Regions from separate parts of the Homo sapiens genome. Here all the other regions are linked to region 1. The links are contacts of gene promoters, found by promoter capture Hi-C in blood cells and fetal thymus (Javierre and others, 2016). All regions are on one chromosome and are shown on one strand. Each heading gives the region's core, a stretch centred on a gene start or on the middle of the fragment in contact. The rest is flanking DNA. Distances are from core to core; before and after follow the strand shown. Region 1 holds the start of STPG2 (sperm tail PG-rich repeat containing 2). Region 2 holds the start of DNAJB14 (DnaJ heat shock protein family (Hsp40) member B14). Region 3 overlaps DNAJB14 (DnaJ heat shock protein family (Hsp40) member B14). Region 4 overlaps DAPP1 (dual adaptor of phosphotyrosine and 3-phosphoinositides 1). Region 5 overlaps DAPP1 (dual adaptor of phosphotyrosine and 3-phosphoinositides 1). Region 6 has its middle 2.9 kb from the start of MTTP. Region 7 has its middle 27 kb from the start of ADH7.

Region 1 (2,820 bases), core at 227-2,726:
GAATTTTTCTCTTTCATCTCTGTGACTCTTTCTAATATGTCATAGTAAATATCTAGATCTTCTGAATGGGTATAGGTGGCAGCTTGGAAAATAAGGTTAAAACAACATTGAGAGAATTATGAGGGTTTCTGACAGAATGCAGGGAGAATCGAAGTTGGTGAGATGTTTCCAAAATATTGCAATATTCATTTTCCTACCATTAAAAAAAATCTTTGCCACCTCTCGTTTTGGATTATACGTCTCTTTCCCCATTAGAGAGAGAACACCTGAGGGCAGGGACTTTCTTATGCCTTTGTATCCTCATAACTTAGCAGGGATGGAACCTACAGTATATGCCAATTCGTGTTTTTTAAGTGCATAAATAATTTAGCTAGCTATTGAACAGAAAAAAAGGTACTACAGATACATCCTTGAGAAGCATATAGCCTCGCAAGGAGAGGGTTCCGACCTATATGGCACAATGAAGCCACAGTAAATGTTGCACAGGATTGAGTGGCAAATCGTGTATTACAGAGTATGAAAACTATAAAAACTTGTAGTAGGAACAAATTAACGTACTGTAGACCATTTGGAGGTGAGGTATGATCAAGGTAGGATTTGTCTAAGCCTCTGAGGATATTTATAATCTGGACAGAATTCTTGCTAGAAAAAACAGCCTGCGAGATGCAGAGGTGGATTCTGACATAGATTCCTTAAGCCCCAAGGACAAGCAAGGTTTCTTTTGCCCAAGGTTCAGAATCATTGGTTTGGTGGGGTGGACTGGGCTTTTTCAGTGCCTTCGCTTTGCTTTTTAAATATTGATGAATCAGTATTGTGGTTACCTGGCATACGACAAAAGAGGCAGCTTTCAGTCACTTCCACGGCTTCAGTTGGTGAGCTTTTCGCCTCCTTGCCTGGTGTCCTCATTTCTTTTTTTTTTTTTTTCTTTTTTACCCTTATCTTATTTGTTATTTTTTTTTCTGGGTTCTCCATTTCTTGTCACTGCCCTGAGCCCTGGGTTTGTCTTAGCAGTTTGGACTATCTACAGGTTAAGATCAGAGGTGCCTTTTCTCTGTGAGTACGAGTGGGGCTGCAGTAGAAGCGGGGGAGAGCTTGCGGAACCCCAAGCTCTCTGCTTCATGCTACTGCATTTTTCTTTACTAGGTTCTGTTGAGTCGGGAAGCAGATCAAGGTCAAGTTAGTCCTCACCCTTCCTAACGCGTTTTCTAAGGTTCTTCTGCATACTTAAAAAAGTTCGGGACCTAAGTAGTTACCGGGACCCCAAGAGCTACGAGGTTTAGGCCTGCCTTCTTCAAGGCGCGCCGGGTTCCGGGTAAAAAGAGCCGGGAAAGGGTGGCTGCTCGGTGCGCATGCTCCGAGGGCTCGGCCCAGGAAGGCACCTCCACTTCGCTCCCTAGAGACTGGGCCCGCCTCCTCCCCAGAGACTGGGCCCGCCTCCTCCCCAGGCTTCCGGGCGGAGAGAAGTGGGCGGAGTCAGGGCCGGAAGCACCGGGGCGAGCGTCTAATCCCTAATACCCAATTTTGGTGGCGTGCACCTGGCAAACTGATGATTGTGTGGGACGTCTAATCTCTAGTCGCTCACCCCTCTACTTTACCACAGAGCTAGAAATCGATTTGAGGAAATCTGGTATCAATGAGCGGGCGGGGAGACAACCCCACCCCTAATTTCCCTGTTTACGGAAGTTCTTTCCCGGCCTCCTCAGACTGGTGTCGGCTTCCTTTTTCTCCACACTTCTAGCTACCTTGTTTTTATCGTTTTCGGCACCTGCCCTTCCCCAGCGCCCCCACCACCCCGAGCACTATGTATGATCGGGCTCCCCGCCTGCTCAAATTGGCTGAAGGTGGCAGCACTGAGGCCCATGTGGGTCCTGGATCCTACCAGGTACCTTTCCTGAAGCAGCAGGCGACAGGTAAGATGTAGGAAGAGGCAGAGCTCCTGTGACAGGCATCCTATCTTCAGCCTGCTCCGCTTCTGCGTGCTTGTGAGTTAAACATAGAGCGGAATAGTACCATTTTGTAAACATAACAAAACATGAAGTAGGCAGGGAAAACACTATACTTTTATTTTACAGATGAGACTGATAGTATCACTTGTCCCATTTCAAAAGGCTGGTGAGCATATGGCTAGGACTTTTGATTCCGCAATAGTTGTCTACATCCTACTTTTGATTGTGCAGTTTAGGTCTAGGATTTTGATTTCCTGGCTGTGTTGACATAATATATGAGTCTCCAAATCCTGTGCCCTTACCTCCCGCTGTCTCGTTGCTTTGTAATCCTGCCTGCCTCACATCTTTCCTCCCATTAACCAGAGACATTTATTTATTAAGATGTAGCTTATATTTCTATTTTGCAGTATTATTTAAAGATAGTTCCGTTTTTTTTTCAGACAGATTTTTCTGACCGTCCTCATCTCTTTTAACACACTTCAGGGGAGCCCCTTTTCTCCACATTCTGTAAAGAAAAATTATATTTTTGACCAGTGGAGTGGGGATGGATAATTTAAATAATATTTGCTCTCCTCGTTTGTTTGCAGTTAGTGACTTAGTCAAAAATAAATACATCAATTTTGCTTTCTACTTTTTCTATTCTGGTGATTTTCTGGAGCTTAATACCGTCCAAATGATAGTTTTTCTTAACCTACATTTTCCCCATACCTACACTATGTATTTTCAAGCAAATGCCAGGATCCATTATTCTGTTACATAACTGATCAGATAAGGGAAGGTTTAGGTTTCTTGGGGTGGAGTACAAATTTGACTTCTGTCAGTGTTTCACATGTTGAATTGTACTGCTTCACAGTATCTGGTATCACTATTCTTG
Region 2 (2,820 bases), core at 117-2,616, 1.8 Mb before region 1:
TGTAGATCAACAAAGTGAGATAGCCCAAGTATATTTTTTTAATGTTATATGAGCTACTAAAGTTTTAATTTAAAAAGTTGGCAGGAGCTGGAGTGGGATTGTCAGTTTCTTAGGCTAAGTGTGACCATTTCAGTTTGTACATTGGCTTCGCTTGCTGTGTGACAGCACTGCACTAGTATGCTGTTAGCATGGTGGACTTGGGGAGGGAGAGAATAGGTAGGAATGTCCTGTATATCCACAGAATGAACTCCGAATTTAAACTTTAAAGATAATAGTGCTACGTGCCAGGCCCTGCTTTGAAGTCTGAAGTTGTTAAGTACTCAGTAACATCATTGGGGATATACTATCTCCATTTTATCGAAGAGAAGCAGGGTTTCTTATTTGAAAGTACCGAGTTATGGTAGTTAGCAGAATTAACAGCTTGGCTCACAGCATTATGTAAAAATTGTTACCTTGTGGTTGGGTTGAGCAGGTCATTTTGACAGTTTGTCATGTTTTTTTTTAAAAAATTTGCACATAGCAAACATTCCCCCCACCCCCACCGCGAAGACTAACAAGACACGGTACTTCCAAGTGGTAATGTTATCCAAATGGGACGGAAAAGGTGAAATCAAAAGTTTGCTTTCGTTAGGGCAGCCCCTGAGGGGCTGATTCCTGCCTTGTTTTGGCTACACAGGATTAAGGTCGATCTGCACCACTCGTTGCAAGCTACAAATTAAACTGCTTTGTACTTTGGATAGCCAGACATCCGGGTCAGAAAAAATGTAGCTGAAATAAGGCTGCCATACAAGCCCTAAGATTAGGTTCAAACGACGCTCTAACGTGTCCCGGAAGTGCTGAGACTGGACTGACACCTTGGTCCTCACCTGACCGCATCCTCCCTCGCTTGAGGGGCCCAGAGGCGGAACCTCCAAGTCCTGGCAATTTTACTGAAAACGAGTGTCCCCTTCCCGGACCCTGTCCTCCTGGCCTGAGCTGCGAGGGCCTCGCCTGGAGGTCACAGGGCACGGCGCTACCAATGCCGGCAATCGGGTCCCGGGCGGAACCCCTCCCCGCGATGGGCAGCCCGGCTGCTATCGTCCGCCTCCCGGGCAGGTCCGCTTCGAGCCTGCTGGCGCCGTGCGCGGACCACCGAGTCAGCTCGGACGCCCCGGCCCAGGAGGTTGGTCCTGGGCCGGGACGGATGCGGATCGCGCCCTAGGGGCCCGCGGGGGGCGGGGAGGCCGCCGTGAGGAGGCGGAGCTGCGAGGCCCGCCCGTCCGCCCGGGCCGTCGCAGCCGCTGCCGCGGTCCCCTGCGCTCCTCCCCGCTGCCGCCGCACGCCCCCAGCCGGTCCCGCCTCGCCTCCTCCGCGGCGGCGGCTTCCGCCCTTCTTAGCTGCGCTGCCGGAGGAAACGGAAGAAGGAGCAAGCTATGGAGGGGAACAGGGATGAGGCTGAGAAATGTGTCGAGATCGCCCGGGAGGCCCTGAACGCCGGCAACCGCGAGAAGGCCCAGCGCTTCCTGCAGAAGGCCGAGAAGCTCTACCCACTGCCCTCGGCCCGCGGTGAGACCTCAGCGTCCCTTCTCTTCCTGCCCAATCCCCAGACCACCGCGTAGCCCGCCCCTGCCCCCACCTCGGCCCCTCCTGGAGGCCTGCGGGGCCCCCGGCCTGTCTGAGCCAGCCCCAGCCCCAGGCCCGGTGGGGAGCATCCCGACACACCCCCGCCCTGGCCCCAGCCCCGGCTCCGGGCTGGGGCTCGGGGAATGCTGCGCGAGGTTCCTCTGCACCCGCCTGCCCGCCGGCTCCGCGTTCCGCTGTCCTAAATGTCCGGGTTTCATTCTCCCTGGAGGAGACTTGTCTGGTCCCGTCTTACCACAGTGAGGCTTTATTTGTATCTGTGTTGTTTATGTGGCCCCCTCCCTCCCCATTCTCAGTCCTACATAAGGCCTAGGCCCCTATCGAAGTGAGAGGAATGGTGTACTCTAGTGGCTAATCTCAGATTCCATGTTTCTGAGATCTGTAGAAAACTGTTCCCAAAGCAAACATCGAATACCTGAGATGACATTGCTTTTCCCTGGGAGAGAGTTCCTTTAAAAGAGAAGAGCACACTTTCGGCAAGAATGGTCAAGAGTCAGTAATGATTGCTGAAGAGTATCTGATTTGATAACACCATGATTATCGACGAACCAAATCTCTGAGGAATATGGTACTGGGTTTCCTTTAGTTGAAGTCAGCTTATTTATTTTCCTACTCGATAGGCTTCGGAGTAATAATAGCCAACATTTATTGAGCACAAAGTGCCAATAGTTGTGCCCAACATTTTGCATGGATTATTTCATTTATTCCTCAGAACAATTCTGTGTAGAGGTGCAGGATTCATTTGACCAGGTTTACCCACGTGGAAACAGACTTTCTGATAATTAATGAATGAATTAGCGAATGAATGAAAGTATCTTACCCAAGGTCACACAACAATTAGTAGCAAAGTCAGAATAGTAGCTGAACTTTCAGACTCGAAAAGGCCTTTAACCGCTACACTGTTGCCTTGCCATTAGTATTTCCAGGTTAAGAAGAAAGTTATCGATAGATTCAATTAATTGTAGAAAATTATTAATGAAAATATGGGGCCACTTGTTTTGTTGTCTCTTAAATTTTTTTCTCTACGTCGTTGAAGCCCTGTGCTCTTTGCTTTTCTCTCTATCCTTTCCATTACATTGCCTTCTAACACTATACCCATGAGGACAGGAAAATAAAATGAAAGAAAAGAGTTAATAATTTTTTAAGTTGTGGTTTAAAAACCTGCCAAATTTACGGTCTTAACTATTTTTAAGTGTGCAG
Region 3 (2,820 bases), core at 89-2,588, 1.8 Mb before region 1:
GATGTTGGCTTGAGGACCAAGTGAGCCATCTTGCCAGTTAAGCAAGTTTTATATCAGAGGACCAAATGGTTAAGAAGAGAATTTGTACATTTCTTGAGCTTCCCCATGTGAAGCTTGGGTTCAGTACTATCCTATTACTATCCATCTTCATAATGAGTGAAGCAAACTGAAAGGGAATTCATAATCTTTTTTCTTATCTGAACAGAAAAACTAATGAAAATCAACAATAAATCTTTATTTTAATTTTCATTCAACAGCTGAAAAACCATGTCTGTTGACCACATTGGACCATTGCCTAGTTAAAATCCATAAAATTCCCTATAAACCAATGAAAAGAAACTTGTCTGGCAATAATTTCCAACATTTTAAATTCTAATTTTTAGTTACAAAGAAAAAGGATAGAATGAGGCTTTTCAAGGAATTCTTGCTCATCCCTTCAATTATTTGGCAGGTAAAACAGTCCTAGAATTCAGCTTCCTTTTTGGTTTTATTACTATTAAATAGATACTTTCATATAAATGGAAACACTTTTCCTCAAAACATTAATTCAAAACATACTCCTTATATTAAGGATTATAGCACCATATTTTTTGTATATTCCCTATGTGTAACTTTTTCCTGTTGGTATGTGATATTTTTCATTTAATATGACTATCTGCTGGTGTTGGGGCCAATAGATTTGTGAATATTCTGTGGATGTGTCTATGTATAGGTGTATATATATATATATATATTTTTTTTTTTTTTTCCCAGCTAATTACCTCAAATGTGTGATTGTTTAATATATACCACACTATGTTTGCACAGAGCAGGGCTTCCATTAGCAGTGGATATTTTTATGTCTGACTTTGAAAATCAGTCAACACAATTTCATTGGTGTGAATTATTTGTTGCTCTTTTTCATATTTTAATGGAGAGATTCCTATTATAAGGCCCATGCTTCAAACATAATTATATCTTTCTATATCCAGCCATCTGGAAATACATAGGGGTAAGAAGTATTTCTTGAAATGTCCTTGTTTAGTAAGTTAGTAAAAACTGGGATGACTAGTTGCCAAGATGTCTTGTAACTGCATAGCAGATGACACCTGGCATGGCAAGTCTCATTCACTTCAGCACAACACTCTGTACATTTCAGTCTGATATTCTACTTTGCCATTTAAGGACACCATTAAAATCATAGAGATTTTCAGTGACATTGGAGTATTGTAATTATTACTTTCAAAAAATTATTTTTAATAGGATGATTAAACCAATGAGAAGAAACACACATAAATGATATTTTGCAGTTTATCTGTATTAAGAAATGCTTCTTGCCAATTTCTAGTTTTAGTTTTTGGATTGCTACATAAGACTTTCTTTCCATTTACTTTATGTGTTTTTAAAAGCTGCAGGTAATTTTTAAGGTTTGATGGAATTATAATGGAAGCCTTGTATAAGTTAAATGAAATTGGTAAAGGAGAGCTTACTTTGTCTATAATGCATTCAGGATTAAAAATTAGATTTCAAAATGAAATGTCTGATTTGTAAAATATTTAATGTTATATCAGACTTACATAAAATTTTCTGTGAGAACTCAAATGCATTTGATTTTTAATGAATGTTCTGAATGAAATATGAATTTTTGTCTTTCAGTCTCTGTAGTTTATCTCAATATATTAATAAAAAGGTCTGTTCTCACTGTAAAATGTTTGTTTTTATCATGTTTTATACTCAATATGGCCACTCTTTCATTCATTCAACTATTCAACAAGTATGTCAATGCTTGCTATATCCCAGGCAGTGAGCTGGGTGCTGGGAATTAATCACTGAATAAGAAAGACAAAAACCTTAAAGAGTTTACATCTAGCAAAGAAAATAAATATCAAGTAAATAATTATAATTATGATAAATTCTACAAAGAAAATTACAGGGTACAATGAAAGCATTTATCTAGAAGACCTAAACTATTCAGTGAGGGTCAGGGAAGGCTTCTCTGAGAGTGAGTTTAAGCCAAAATGCAAAAGATGAGATTAGTAGGATTAAGGTATGCTAGAGAAATATCTCAGGCAGAACGTGCTAAGTTGGTAAAGTGATAAAAATCTTTATGGAAGTGAAAACAAACTTGTATGATCATAGCATAAGGAATCCAGGGTAGGTGAGAGAATTAAGATAGGGGCCAGATCCCCATAAGAATGATATATAAACCATGATGCTGATATTGAACTTTATCCTAAGTCAATAAACTTGATTTTCAAGGAAGGAGTTAAATGATGTGATTTGGGTCTTTAGAACATCATTTTTGTTGCTGTGTGGAGACTGGAGGGCAAAAGAGAATGTAAGAAGAATAGGAGGTTGTTGTCAAAAGAGAGATGATCATGGCTTGGAGTAGGGTAGGAATATAGATAGGTGAATAGTTTTCAAAGATAGGAGGTAGAATCAACAGAACTCTGATTAGATTTGTGACATATGGAAGCAGCAATTGAAAACCAGGCTAAAGTTTTCTGAAAATTTGGCTATGAAAGGGAGTAGAGGAAAAACAGTGTGGTAGCTGAAAGAGGATGCGATTTCTAAAGAAGCTTTTCTTTTGAGGGTCTCGCTCTGTCACACAAGCTGGAGTTCAGTGGGGCGATCACCACTCGATGCAGCCTCAAACCCTGGGCTCAAGGGATCCTCCTGCCTCAGCCTCCCGAGTACCTGGTGCACGCCACGTTCGGATAATTCTTAATTATTATTATTATTTGTAGAGATGGGGTCCTATCTTGCCAGGCTGCTGTGGAACTCCTGGGCTCAAAGGATCGTCCCGCCTCGGACTCCCAAAGTGCTGCGACTACAGGCGTC
Region 4 (2,820 bases), core at 186-2,685, 1.7 Mb before region 1:
GCAGAAATTCTTCCAAATTTATTAAAGGCCATGCTGTGCCATGGCAGCAATGTATTGCAGTGTCGCTGTAGGACCAATTTCAAGAGATAGCAAGGTGCCTGGAAAGCATCTATGCTTCAGGACCAGGTTAGCCCAGATTCCAATCTCAGCTCTGAGTTCTTCCAAATCCATTTAAGGCCACACTGTACCATGGCAACAATGTACTGTTATTGTGGGACCAGTTTCAAAAGATAGCAAGGTGCATGGAAAGCATCTATGCTTTAGAACCAGATTAGCCCAGATTCCAATCTCAGCCCTGATGTTTACCAGCAGTGAAAACTTGGGCAAGTGACTTAAAACCTCTGAGTTTTCCTTTCCTCATCTGAAAATAGGACCGTTGTATGCATTATTGTGGGTGGCTGAGATGAAATAAGTTGATGTAGGTGAATGCCTGGAACCTAGCAAACACTCTAAAAATGTTGGCTTAATTCCCTTCCTCAGCTGCTTTTTCCTTTTTCGAATAAAACTCATCTATAAACTGAGAACATTTTGTATTTTTGGCAAACATCCAAGGAAGTTTGGAAAAATTCTAAGTTGTCACTAGTTGTTTTCTGAAGAACCACCCAATTCTCAAATTAAAATTAATTTTAACCACATTATTTAAAAATATCACCTGGGTGGTGTCACAAAACAAAATAATAATAGCGGTAGCTGTCGTCAAAAGATTGGGAATCCCCATATCAAAACAAAAAGAGAAATGGAGATTTGACATTTACCAAAAAACCAGATGAGATCTTTAAAATTGGGAACCAATTATTATAAAGGGTAAGCACAAACATAGAACTTGACTTGTATTATATTTTTTCATGCCTGTTAGGTGATTACAGTCACAATACAATGTAATAAATTATACATGGCAATTTCATGTTAAGAATTATTGAAACATAAACAAAAGGTAATGGTAAAAGTAATTTTTTGTTCTAATCATATTTAGACATTTAAGCATAAAGATAAATGCCGTCTACATTTTCAAGACTATATATATGAAACTTAGCTAATTACAAGAGGCTACGACAAAATTAATAATGGACCAAACATATTTATACTAATAAAAAAGTTTCTCAAATTTTCAAGTCTATTTGAGTTTAGTTTAGAGTTCATGCACAGACATGAATATGTTTTATTTGATATCCTACTATTGAGACAGAAAAACTCCAACCGGCCTGCCCACTGAGGTGAAGCCTTAGGAAGTTCGTGTCCTTTGCAGTGGGGAGGAGCCTGGCCCCTCCTCTTCCTGTGAGGAACATAGAATTCAAACTGCTGGGCAGGAAGCGCTCTAGCTTCCCTGTTTCCCTCTTTTCTTTCTTTTCATCCAATAAAACCCTGCTTCACTCACCCTTCAAACCGTCTGCGAGCCTAAATTTTTGTGGCCGTGGGATGGAGAGGGACCCGATCTTTAGCTGAACTAAGGAAAAGTCCTGCAACACTATCACAAATGAAAGGCAAATTCTGAATTTAATCATCACTGAGCATACATGCAACACAAAATATCATTTCAAATTATGTTTTTATAAACTTTGAAAGTTAAAATTGTCACAAGTTTGCTAGTTTTGATGTTGCCATGCAAAAAACTGCAATGCAGGCATTGGAAATGGGGCATCCAGCATGACATATTGTGGAAATGATCAGTACTTATTTTTTCAGGTCCTGGGACATAGCAGGAAGCAAAGCTGACAAAAGTCCCTTTCTTCATGGAGTTCACACACTAGTGTGGAAAAAAAGGTATTTTTTTAAAAAACATAAGTGAATTATAGATGTCAGAAGGTAAAAGGGCCATTGAGAAAAATAAAGCAAGAGAGTACATTGTATATCTCTATCATGTACTTGGGAAATTATTAGGTTTTGAGAATTGGAAGTATCTTAAGAGTGTTTATGGGTATTGATAAAAAGAAATTAGAGTGAACAGAAACTTTAATGGAGATTAGAGAGATGAAATAGAGATTATGGCAAGGGAAAGGGAAATTATCATAAAATACTCTTAAAGTTGTCAAGAGGCTTAGATGTTGCTTAGGAAATCCTTGCTTTTCAGATTAGCAAACAGAAATCCTAAAAGTGTAAAGAGTAGGGAATAGAAAAAAAAGATATCTTAAAATAGCATTAATCCCCTTAGGTCAACACTTTTATCTATTTTGAGTGCAAAAATGTTCTTACGACCCAAAATCAAATATTCTGGGTTTCACTCTACTGAAGGCATTATATATAACTGCAAGGCAAAAGTGTAAAGTTTTGGCTATTTGGATATCATTTCTGTTGCCCTCAAAGGTAATACCACTTGTGCCAGTAGATAAATGTATTATAAGAAAGTCACTCTTTAATAAACTTACCCTCTAGACCCTGCAGGGTGAGGCTGGGCCTGGGTGGGGTCTGGCTGAGAGCAGTGGCCTGAAATATCCAATTCTAGTCCTTGTCATTCTGGTAATCTGAAGTTGAGAGCCCTGGGAGGGGCTTGTCCATTGTGTGGACAAATGCTTTTCCTGGTGATGTTAATCAAACATAAGCTATAAGAAATATCTGTACTTCTGGCGTGAACCCGGGAGGCGGAGCTTGCAGTGGGCCGAGATCGCGCCACTGCACTCCAGCCTGGGCGACAGAGCGAGACTCCGTCTCAAAAAAAAAAAAAAAAAGAAAGAAATATCTGTACTTCATCTGAAGGTGAACATGAAATCGTTAGCCTGAAGATCTTCTGATCACTGGGAGCCAATACTAGGAGCCCATGCTTAAATGAACAAGAAGAAAAGGCCTATTTTTAGAAGGTGGCATGTCAGTTTCCATTCACCATTC
Region 5 (2,820 bases), core at 90-2,589, 1.7 Mb before region 1:
GGAGCTCCCTTATTCTGGCTGCTGGGCACACATAAGGCAGCCCGAGAATGCATTAGTTTCTTCACAATTGCATCACATAGCTGATTCACACTGGACTTACTGTTGATTAAAACTTCCAATTAGGTCATTTCCTTCATCTGCACTTATAAGTGTGATGGTGTTTTTTGTTTTGTTTTTTTGTTGTTTTTTTTTTGAGACGTAGTCTGACTCTGTTGCCCAGGCTGGAGTGCAGTGGCTCGATCTCGGCTCACTGCAAGCTCTGCCTCCCGGGTTCACGCCATTCTCCTGCCTCAGCCTCCCGAGTAGCTGGGACTACAAGTGCCCACCACCACACCTGGCTAATTTTTGTATTTTTAGTAGAGACGGGGTTTCACCTTGTTAGCCAGGATGGTCTCGATCTCCTGACCTCGTGATCCGCCCGCCTCAGCCTCCCAAAGTGCTGAGATTACAGACCGCGCCCAGCCAAGAGTGATGGTTTTAAAATCAGGTGCAATAAGAAACTTTTTACTACTGGGAAGTGTCAAGTGAAAAGAGTTGCTAATGAGCAGCCAACATGGACCACACACAACCTCAGGCCCCTCCCTCAACCTGCTAAGTCCCACGTGATTGTTATGCACTTTAGAGTTTGAGGAGCATGTATGGGAAGGACTCTTGGGCCTGAAAACTTTAATTCACTTCAATAATGTGAACAGTTTGAGTTCACAGAATTTGGCATTTGAAGAGAAGGGCAAAGCAAAGTACTAAGTGACTTTTCAGTACCAACAGAATGGAAAAGAGAAGGATCTGCAGGTTAACATAGAAGAATCACCAAATAGCTGCTATCTTAGTGATATGGACAGTAAATATTATAGCATAGGAAGGGGAGCTCACAGTGGGCTGGAATGATCAGGGAAAACTTCATGGAGCGGGAGAATGATAAACTGCAGTATGAAGAATGAATATAGGATTCATTAGGCAGTGAGAGGCATTCTGAGAGGAGAAATGACATAAGCAAAGGCACTGGAGTGGACATGGGCTTGGTGTGCATGGGCAACCAAATGCCTAGCTGGAGCACAGGGTCCCTGTTGGGAAGTGGTGCAAAATAATTCTGGAAGAACTGGTGGACACAGAAAGCAATCTTGCACTTTAAAACACATGCCACACATCCATTTAGATAGTATATTTCTTGATGACAAAATGTCTTAGTAACTCATGTCTACAGATTATTCACATATTTAATGATATATTTTTCCCTGCCTGGAAAAGATACATGAAATAGAACCTCAATTCTGTTTCATCAGAGTTATAAAGAGGACATATATTTCAACGCAAAGTGGGAAAAAAACTCCTGATTGTGTTAAAACAGCCAAAATGCCCTGGAGTTGAACAGCCAACAAAAGCATTCTTCTTTAGAAAATTTTCTCTTATTTCATTTTCAAAGTTGTTCTCACTTTTATATGACACTGACACCCCTCTGAACTATCTAGACCAAAGATGACAAATGCATAACATATGTGCCACACCCCTTCTCTAAGTTCATACATGGCACAGCTAATTGATGTGTCTTTCTTGCTGAGCCTATACTTAGCCTCACAATCTTTCTGAACACAACAGTGATAGAACAAAGATGAATCTATTAGGCGTTCACACTCTAAGGTTTAATCTGTTCTTACCACTTGAACTATTCCATGGGATTCCTTGGCTGCTGATTTCATTCATGCTCATTTGTTCATAGGGTCGGTGCTAGATACTTTGATTTTGTGAAAGGTAAAGTGTTTGGCCCTCTATGCCATTAGAAATCATGGGTTTAGGGTGTCTTATGTAACTCAAGAGCTACCAGTGCTGTAATTTATATTAGAATCAGGTTGTGACATATCTAAGAAAGATGGTGTTGCCCACACAAGCCCATTAAGTCACATGTTCACAAGTGTGGGCTTATTTTTCCATTGATAATAGCAATGGACCCTGTTCAAATAGAGGGAATCAAGCCGAAGCCTTATAAAGGATTTTGGAAGTTCTTACATGGTCTCAGACAGGTGTAGTGTGATATACAGGGGAGGCCAAAGAAAGATTCTCTAGAGTCTCTCCAATAGAGACGTTTCTGTGATGGAACCAGCAGGGCTGTATCTTTCAAAATTGCTTTTCTAAATGCCCATGTTTACATGAGCTAAGAGCAGAGCTAAATGGTGAGACCAGCTGCCCCAGGCTTTAGAAAACAGACCTGAGTGATGACAGAGGCGGAGCATGCAAATATCTCATTGATCTGTGAGTTAAAGGCAGGTCCCAAGTTTTTTGGTGGGAGTCAAGGCTCAGCTAATGGAAATCAAAACTGAAAGGGAGGAGAGAATTCTGTAGGAGTTTGAGATCAGGATGAACCTGTTCTTGAAGAAGTCTGAGAAATGATGCAAGAAGCTCTGGAAGACGAAAACACAGAGACAGACAGACATGGAGACTCAGAGATTCAGAGACAGAGTGGCACAAAGTCTCAGAGACACAAAAGTCAAAGAGCTGCAGACAGACGGATAGAAAGATAGAGACACAAAACTCAAGAGACCAAGATAGACTCGCCAGCTCACACAGATAGCCAGAAGCACATGGGGACAGAGACTTAGGGAATGCACATGCAGACCCAAAGAGTGATCCAGGAGACAGGGGCAGAGAAAACAATGAAAGATAAAGATGTCTTTAAAGATAAAGAAAAATCCACAGAGCCTGACTCAGAGATGGACCAACATACCCAGGGAAGTCAGATTTGGACAGACCTGAGGGACAGAGCCACTACTTGCGGGAGGGGTGAAAACTGCATCTCACTGTACTGAGATCCTTCTGTTCGGTCCCCAG
Region 6 (2,820 bases), core at 181-2,680, 1.4 Mb before region 1:
ATACATACATAGGGATATAAAATCATTATAGTCACTTGAACTTTACTTACATATTTATTTAAATTAAAAGCTAGTTTGTATTGTATTTGATTGTATGAGAGCTGTCCTTATGTATTTTCATTTGAGGCTCACAGTTACAAGACCTTTAATGTTTGTGGTTAGGCTATGTGGTGCATGATACGTGCCCTTCGGGTAAAGTACTATTCGTTGTCAAGTGTTTTCCAGAGTCCAACCAATAAAAGACATATCACTATTGCCTAACAAACTAAATTCTATTTCATTTGAGCATTTGATTTCCACTAGAAAGCTCCTATGAGTCACTGTATTAAGTAGCAATTTCAACATAAGATGTTCAAATAAGGCTGCTTCTGCTGGTTATAAATAACATCATCCTTTTATAAAATATAAACATAACTTTTTTCTTTTTACAAGGACATTTTAGAAAAGACTTCTGGAGATTGTTTCATTACAGATGACATAAGAATGCCAAAGCCTTTCCAAATTCAGTAAACTCTGTGTATCGAAGAAGTATGCTCTTCTGTTACTGTTGATCGTCCACAGCAAACACTGTGCAAACATGTGAGCACTACCTCCTAAAACTCACCAGCTATTTTACATAATATGTGAAGCAGGGCAGAAGCAAAGCACAGTAAAAAAACAAGAGCTGCCATCTATGGAACAATTACATACTTTGTTAATCACCTTACGTTTTTATAATAATCCTTACAACAGTCATTTGACATATTAGAAAAATGAGTCTCAGATTAATTTACTGAAGTGATATTAGGACTACAGAAAAATAAACCTTGAAACCTAGACCCAAGTATTCTTCTTTGCTTAAAAAAAATTACAGGTGGGGAGTGAGAAAAAAATTGATTTCTTACAGATGACATGCAATTGTTAATTGGGACTGTCTTCATAATAAGTCATCACAATTTTGTATGAAAACTAACAGAGCCCTTGATTTTTGTGAAATTGTGGTTAGACATTCAGGCTGAACATACAGGGGTAAAACTGATCTATGATAGTTAGATCAAAATCAAATGATACATTTCAAAACAATGCTATTGCAATGAAATTCCTTAGGTAGTACATGACACTGTGAAATATTTGCTATACTTCCATTTGCATTGATAAATAAGGAGACTATGAAATAAAGATGGATGATTAATTCCAAAGTACAGTTGTGTTTCTGTTGAGTGTCAGAGGTTGTCAGGAGTTAACGTATTTTCTTAGATTAGAAGACAAATGAACTTCACCCCACTAAAGGTTGGAAGGAAATGTATTACCCTACTAGATATAGAAAGTCAGGATGTATGAAAGCTATGTGAAAAAACAGTCTGTTTATAACATTGAAACACTTTGTTCTTAGAAAGAAGCATGACATTAATGAAAAAAAAATTTAGAAGGACACTTTAAGTTATCCCTACATGGTCATAATAGTTTAAACTCTAAAAGTATTTTCAAATCAATGAGGGAGTTAGCATTTTGAAAGAATCTTGAAAAAATTTCTTAAGTTAAAAATATTCTTAATGTGATGACTTTTTTTATTCCAAGGCAAAATTATATAGGAATACATACAATATTTTGAAAGGTATTGTTTAAAAATTCTCTACGAGAAAATAAAGATTCACTGAATTCCTTATCAAAAGCAAACTTGGTTTGAAACACTGGGAATCTAAAACTCCAAAAAGAACATTCATTTTTCCAAAATAGAGTCACTAACCAAATTTTCTACCCCCTATACATATATACGCACATACAAATTTGACAACAACCAAAAAAATCCTTTGTATCATATCAGTTACCATAAAAGGATTCTAAATTATCTTTGACCACACAAAACTGAATTGCTAGCATTTAAAGGAGAGAATTGATGTAAACTCTTTTAGTAGACTACTGTAAATACAATAAGATTTTAATTTTGATCAGAATAAATTTATCAGACATTTAAAAAAAGAAATTTCAAAACCTAAAATATAATAATATCCAAGTATAAATGCAATTTTCCTTTTAAAGTATATACGATACAACAATTACATTTATGAACTAATTCTTAATATGTAGATATAAAAATATGAATTTATTTGAAGTGGAACAAGAAGCCAATTGTTTTAAATAATTACCAAAATAAGAAAATAAAAAATGTTAAAGAGAGGTCAAGAGATATAGAGGATAGAGTGAGTGGTGCAAAGGCAATATTTGGGGAATATATTTGAAGAATTTCCAAGAACTATTGAAAGGCACTGTATCAGTTCTCCATAGCTACCATAACAAATTACCACAAAACTTAGTGGCTTAAAACAGCAGATTTATTGTCTTATACTCTTGGAGGTCAGAAGTCTAACACTGGTCTCACAGGGATAAAATGAAAGTATTGGCAGGTGTATCCCTTTCTGGAGGCTTTAGGGGAGAATTTGTTTCTTACCTTTTCTAGCTTCTAGAAGCTACCTGCATTCCTTGACTCGTGGTCCCTTCCTGCATTTACAAATCCAGCAAGAGTAAGCTGAATCCTTTTTACTTCATATCACTCTGACCATCTCTTCTGTCTCCCTCTTCCGTTTTATGAATCCTTGTGATTATACTGGGCCTGCCTAAATAATCCAGGATAATCTTTTTACCCTGAGGTCTGTGGATTGGTAACTTTAATTTCATCTACAACCTTAACTTAGACTATCACAGGTTCTGGAGATTAAGACATTTAAGATCTTTGGGGAGCCATTGTCTGCCTATCACAGATACCAATCCACAGATTCACGAGGCTCAATAAGTCTTAAGCAGGATAATTTTTAAAACACACATACACACAAGTAGATACAT
Region 7 (2,820 bases), core at 224-2,723, 1.3 Mb before region 1:
ATGGCCAAAGGCCATTAATTTGGGAAAAGCATACCCATTTATTGTTGGGAACTATAAAAGGGCCAGTGTAGCTGGTATTTGCTGCAAAACATTAATGATATTGTTTAGGTTCACGAAGCTGAAAAAGATGCTAAAACCTTGTGGACATTTTTATACATTTACCTCAATAATCAGCTTCCTTATGTATATTTCCCAAAGATAATGTGATTTGATTAGTGCCAAAATTGATATGAAATTATTTTAATTTAGAGGAAGAAAAGGACTATATAGAAATAGCATTCCCAAGAGTACCCTCTTGCCCACGACTTCAACTCCAGTCTCTGCAAAGATTTCTTTCACCAGCAATTTCTTTTTTGTTTCTCATTGCTATTTACATCTAAAATTATTTATATTTTTATGTAATAAGTAACTAACCAAGGCCCCATAAACTAGTTTATAGTATTCATCTTCTTCATGCATAGGTATTTGTCCATTTTTTTATTCCTTACTCCCTCACAGAGTTAGATTCCCTTCATTAAGGAAAATCTCGATTACCTAGGCCACCAGCTTTAGGTTCCAGTAGTTCTTTCCACCATGTATCTGACTTTGTCTGTTACCCTATAGGGTACAGAAAAGTGACGGATGCCTTCACTGAAAGTCCATTCCGTTTTACATGTAAAGTGTCAGAAGATAAGAATTATGTTCTAAGTTCTTTCTCAAAACAGTACCTAGTATTAATAGAACGTTTTGTGCCCAATGGACACTACGCAAACATTCTTAGCTGATTTAACAATTGAATTGAGAAGATTATGTATTTCTGGCTGTGTCACGTGTCCAGCTCATTAAATGCATCTTCATGTTAGCCAAAGAATTGAGTGAAATAATAAAGCATGTTTTTGGCAACAGCTCTTTCAGGTAGTCAAATTTTTAATTTTAAATTTGGATTTATTTTTCTGTTTGGTAAACCAATGAGACTTACACTTCAGATTCAAGTCAACATTTTAATTAATGTTTACTAGCATTAGGACAAATACCTAATGCATCTGGGGCTTAAAACCTAGATGACGGGTTGATAGGTGGAGCAAACCACCATGGCACATGTATACCTATGTAACAAACCTGTACGTACTGCACATGTATCCCAGAACTTAAAGTAAAATTTAAAAAAATAATAAGGCTTACTTGAATTTGCAATGGTATATTTGAAAAAAAAAATGGATATGTTGTTTTAATTTCACTAGCATTTTACAAATTTCAATGCAAGTTTTGGCAAAGAACCACATAGTTACATAACTACCTGGCATGCATCATTTTAGTACTATTTATTCAGAAAGGCCTTTTATAAAACAAACTTTCCTGCCAAAAAATAGGAAGTACAAATATTGTACTCTGATTGTGTATTACAACTTGTCAAAAGTGTGATGTGGTGACCTAATTCAGGAGGCCTGGGTTTGATTACAACTCTACCTCCAATTAAAACTCACAGTAGCTATTTTCTGAAGTCTGATATAGCATTCTCAAAGGTTCTAACTAGAATGAGGTTTCTTTTTTATTATTAATAACTTTTCTGTACCTACTATGGTTTTGAGAGGGTTTCTGAAATTGTCATAAAATTGGTTATTGGTTTTCCTTTACCTTCCAAAAGAAGACTGAGGGGTGTCTCCCTAAGGAAGAAAAGGTGCTAAAGCACTTGCAATTTGCTGCTTCAAACTAGGAGACTTATCTAGTGCATTTGTTCTAGAAAATTAGAATCATAGACATAGTCTCTCCTGGAAGACACTGAAAGTTCTAGGAAGCACTTGGCTACATTTGAAAGAAACACTCAAAAGAGATAGCTTAATCGAAGATGAAATCCCTCGGAAGAAACAAGAGAGGACTCGGTTCTAGGACCTCAGTCCCAGCACCATCAGGAAACCTTATTTTATCCCTATCTGCTTAGAGGATGCTTGGTATGGCAGAATTCTAATCCTACTTTGGGGTGTTGTCCCTTTGAAACTTAAAAGTATTGAAACAATCAATTCTCTCTTCCTCTTCCCTGCTAGCTTGTTGCCCTAGTTCATTCCTTTATCTCTTGCCCATATTCCTGCAATAACCACCGAATGCATGTCCCTGCCTACTGTAGAATGGCCTTGGAATTAATTTGAATGGCTTATTCAAATCCCCCAATCCCACCCATGGGAATGCTAAATTCAGCACTCTCTTCCTCTGTGCTTTAAATACATAAAGGATTTTTGAGAGCAAAGGAGAAAGCAGCATCACACTCATTCTCCACTGATATGGTTAGGCTTTGTGTCCCCACCCAAATCTCATCTTGAATTATAATTCCCATAATCCCCATAATCCCTATATGTCAAGGGACAGACCAGGTGGAGGTAACTGAATCATGGGGACAGTTTCCCCATGCTGTTCTCGTGATAGTGAGTGAGTTCTCATGAGATCTGATGGTTTCATAAAGGGCTCTTCCTTCTTTGCTCTTCTCCTTCCTGCTGCCTTGTGAAGAAGGTGCCTTGTTTCCACTTTGCCTTCTGCCATGATTGTAAGTTTCCAAAGCCGTGCTGAACTGTGAGTCAGTTGAATCTCTTTCCTTTATAAATTACCCATCCTTGGGCAGTTCTTTATAGCAGTGTGAGAATGAACTAATACATCCACATTCTCTCACTTCAAGCCTTAGAGCAGGATACCTCACGGTCCCAGCATGGACAGGATGTGTAGAATGTAGAGGAGATGCTCTGTTCATTGTGACCAGCTCTGCTTGAGCCCCAGCAGATTCTTGTTCATGTAGGAGAGAGGGGAATAGACCACCACCTGAAAAGGATGGAGGTAATGCCAAACACCTAGGCG

The links. Contacts are between HindIII fragments. The CHiCAGO score rates a contact against its expected background, and 5 or more counts as called.
Region 2: the fragment with the promoter of DNAJB14 here is called in contact with the fragment with the promoter of STPG2 in region 1 in 6 of 17 cell types (neutrophils, monocytes, total CD8 T cells and 3 more); the score reaches 12.9 in neutrophils.
Region 3: a fragment that was not itself captured here is called in contact with the fragment with the promoter of STPG2 in region 1 in 1 of 17 cell types (monocytes); the score reaches 7.3 in monocytes.
Region 4: a fragment that was not itself captured here is called in contact with the fragment with the promoter of STPG2 in region 1 in 1 of 17 cell types (neutrophils); the score reaches 5.3 in neutrophils.
Region 5: a fragment that was not itself captured here is called in contact with the fragment with the promoter of STPG2 in region 1 in 1 of 17 cell types (neutrophils); the score reaches 7.0 in neutrophils.
Region 6: a fragment that was not itself captured here is called in contact with the fragment with the promoter of STPG2 in region 1 in 1 of 17 cell types (neutrophils); the score reaches 5.9 in neutrophils.
Region 7: a contact is called between a fragment that was not itself captured here and the fragment with the promoter of STPG2 in region 1, in 13 of 17 cell types (naive CD4 T cells, M2 macrophages, naive B cells and 10 more). The highest score is 11.5, in naive CD4 T cells.

Annotation. Positions count from the first base shown.
Region 1 is chr4:98,142,132-98,144,951 of GRCh38, reverse strand. STPG2 (sperm tail PG-rich repeat containing 2) reads left to right here and starts at 1,476. Exons shown (of 11, transcript NM_174952.3): 1 at 1,476-1,910. The coding sequence starts at 1,802. RefSeq lists an enhancer at 1,650-1,749. The HindIII fragment of the contact is 14,460 bases long and covers 1-2,820 here.
Region 2 is chr4:99,945,164-99,947,983 of GRCh38, reverse strand. DNAJB14 (DnaJ heat shock protein family (Hsp40) member B14) reads left to right here and starts at 1,366. Exons shown (of 8, transcript NM_001031723.4): 1 at 1,366-1,545. The coding sequence starts at 1,413. RefSeq lists a silencer at 1,103-1,762 and an enhancer at 1,933-1,982. The HindIII fragment of the contact is 11,087 bases long and covers 1-2,820 here.
Region 3 is chr4:99,895,116-99,897,935 of GRCh38, reverse strand. DNAJB14 (DnaJ heat shock protein family (Hsp40) member B14) reads left to right here. Exons shown (of 8, transcript NM_001031723.4): 8 at 1-1,688. Among named protein-coding and RNA genes, the nearest start is that of LAMTOR3, 2.1 kb to the right of the region's middle. The HindIII fragment of the contact is 2,445 bases long and covers 116-2,560 here.
Region 4 is chr4:99,842,696-99,845,515 of GRCh38, reverse strand. All of the region lies in intron 3 of DAPP1 (dual adaptor of phosphotyrosine and 3-phosphoinositides 1), which reads right to left. Among named protein-coding and RNA genes, the nearest start is that of DAPP1, 27 kb to the right of the region's middle. The HindIII fragment of the contact is 3,832 bases long and covers 1-2,820 here.
Region 5 is chr4:99,824,906-99,827,725 of GRCh38, reverse strand. The region is part of intron 1 of DAPP1 (dual adaptor of phosphotyrosine and 3-phosphoinositides 1); the gene reads right to left. Among named protein-coding and RNA genes, the nearest start is that of DAPP1, 9.5 kb to the right of the region's middle. The HindIII fragment of the contact is 3,328 bases long and covers 1-2,820 here.
Region 6 is chr4:99,570,474-99,573,293 of GRCh38, reverse strand. It overlaps a transcript of MTTP not described here. Among named protein-coding and RNA genes, the nearest start is that of MTTP, 2.9 kb to the left of the region's middle. The HindIII fragment of the contact is 9,913 bases long and covers 1-2,820 here.
Region 7 is chr4:99,407,063-99,409,882 of GRCh38, reverse strand. No RefSeq gene overlaps it. Among named protein-coding and RNA genes, the nearest start is that of ADH7, 27 kb to the left of the region's middle. RefSeq lists a cis regulatory region at 1,156-1,497 and an enhancer at 1-2,820. The HindIII fragment of the contact is 3,083 bases long and covers 1-2,820 here.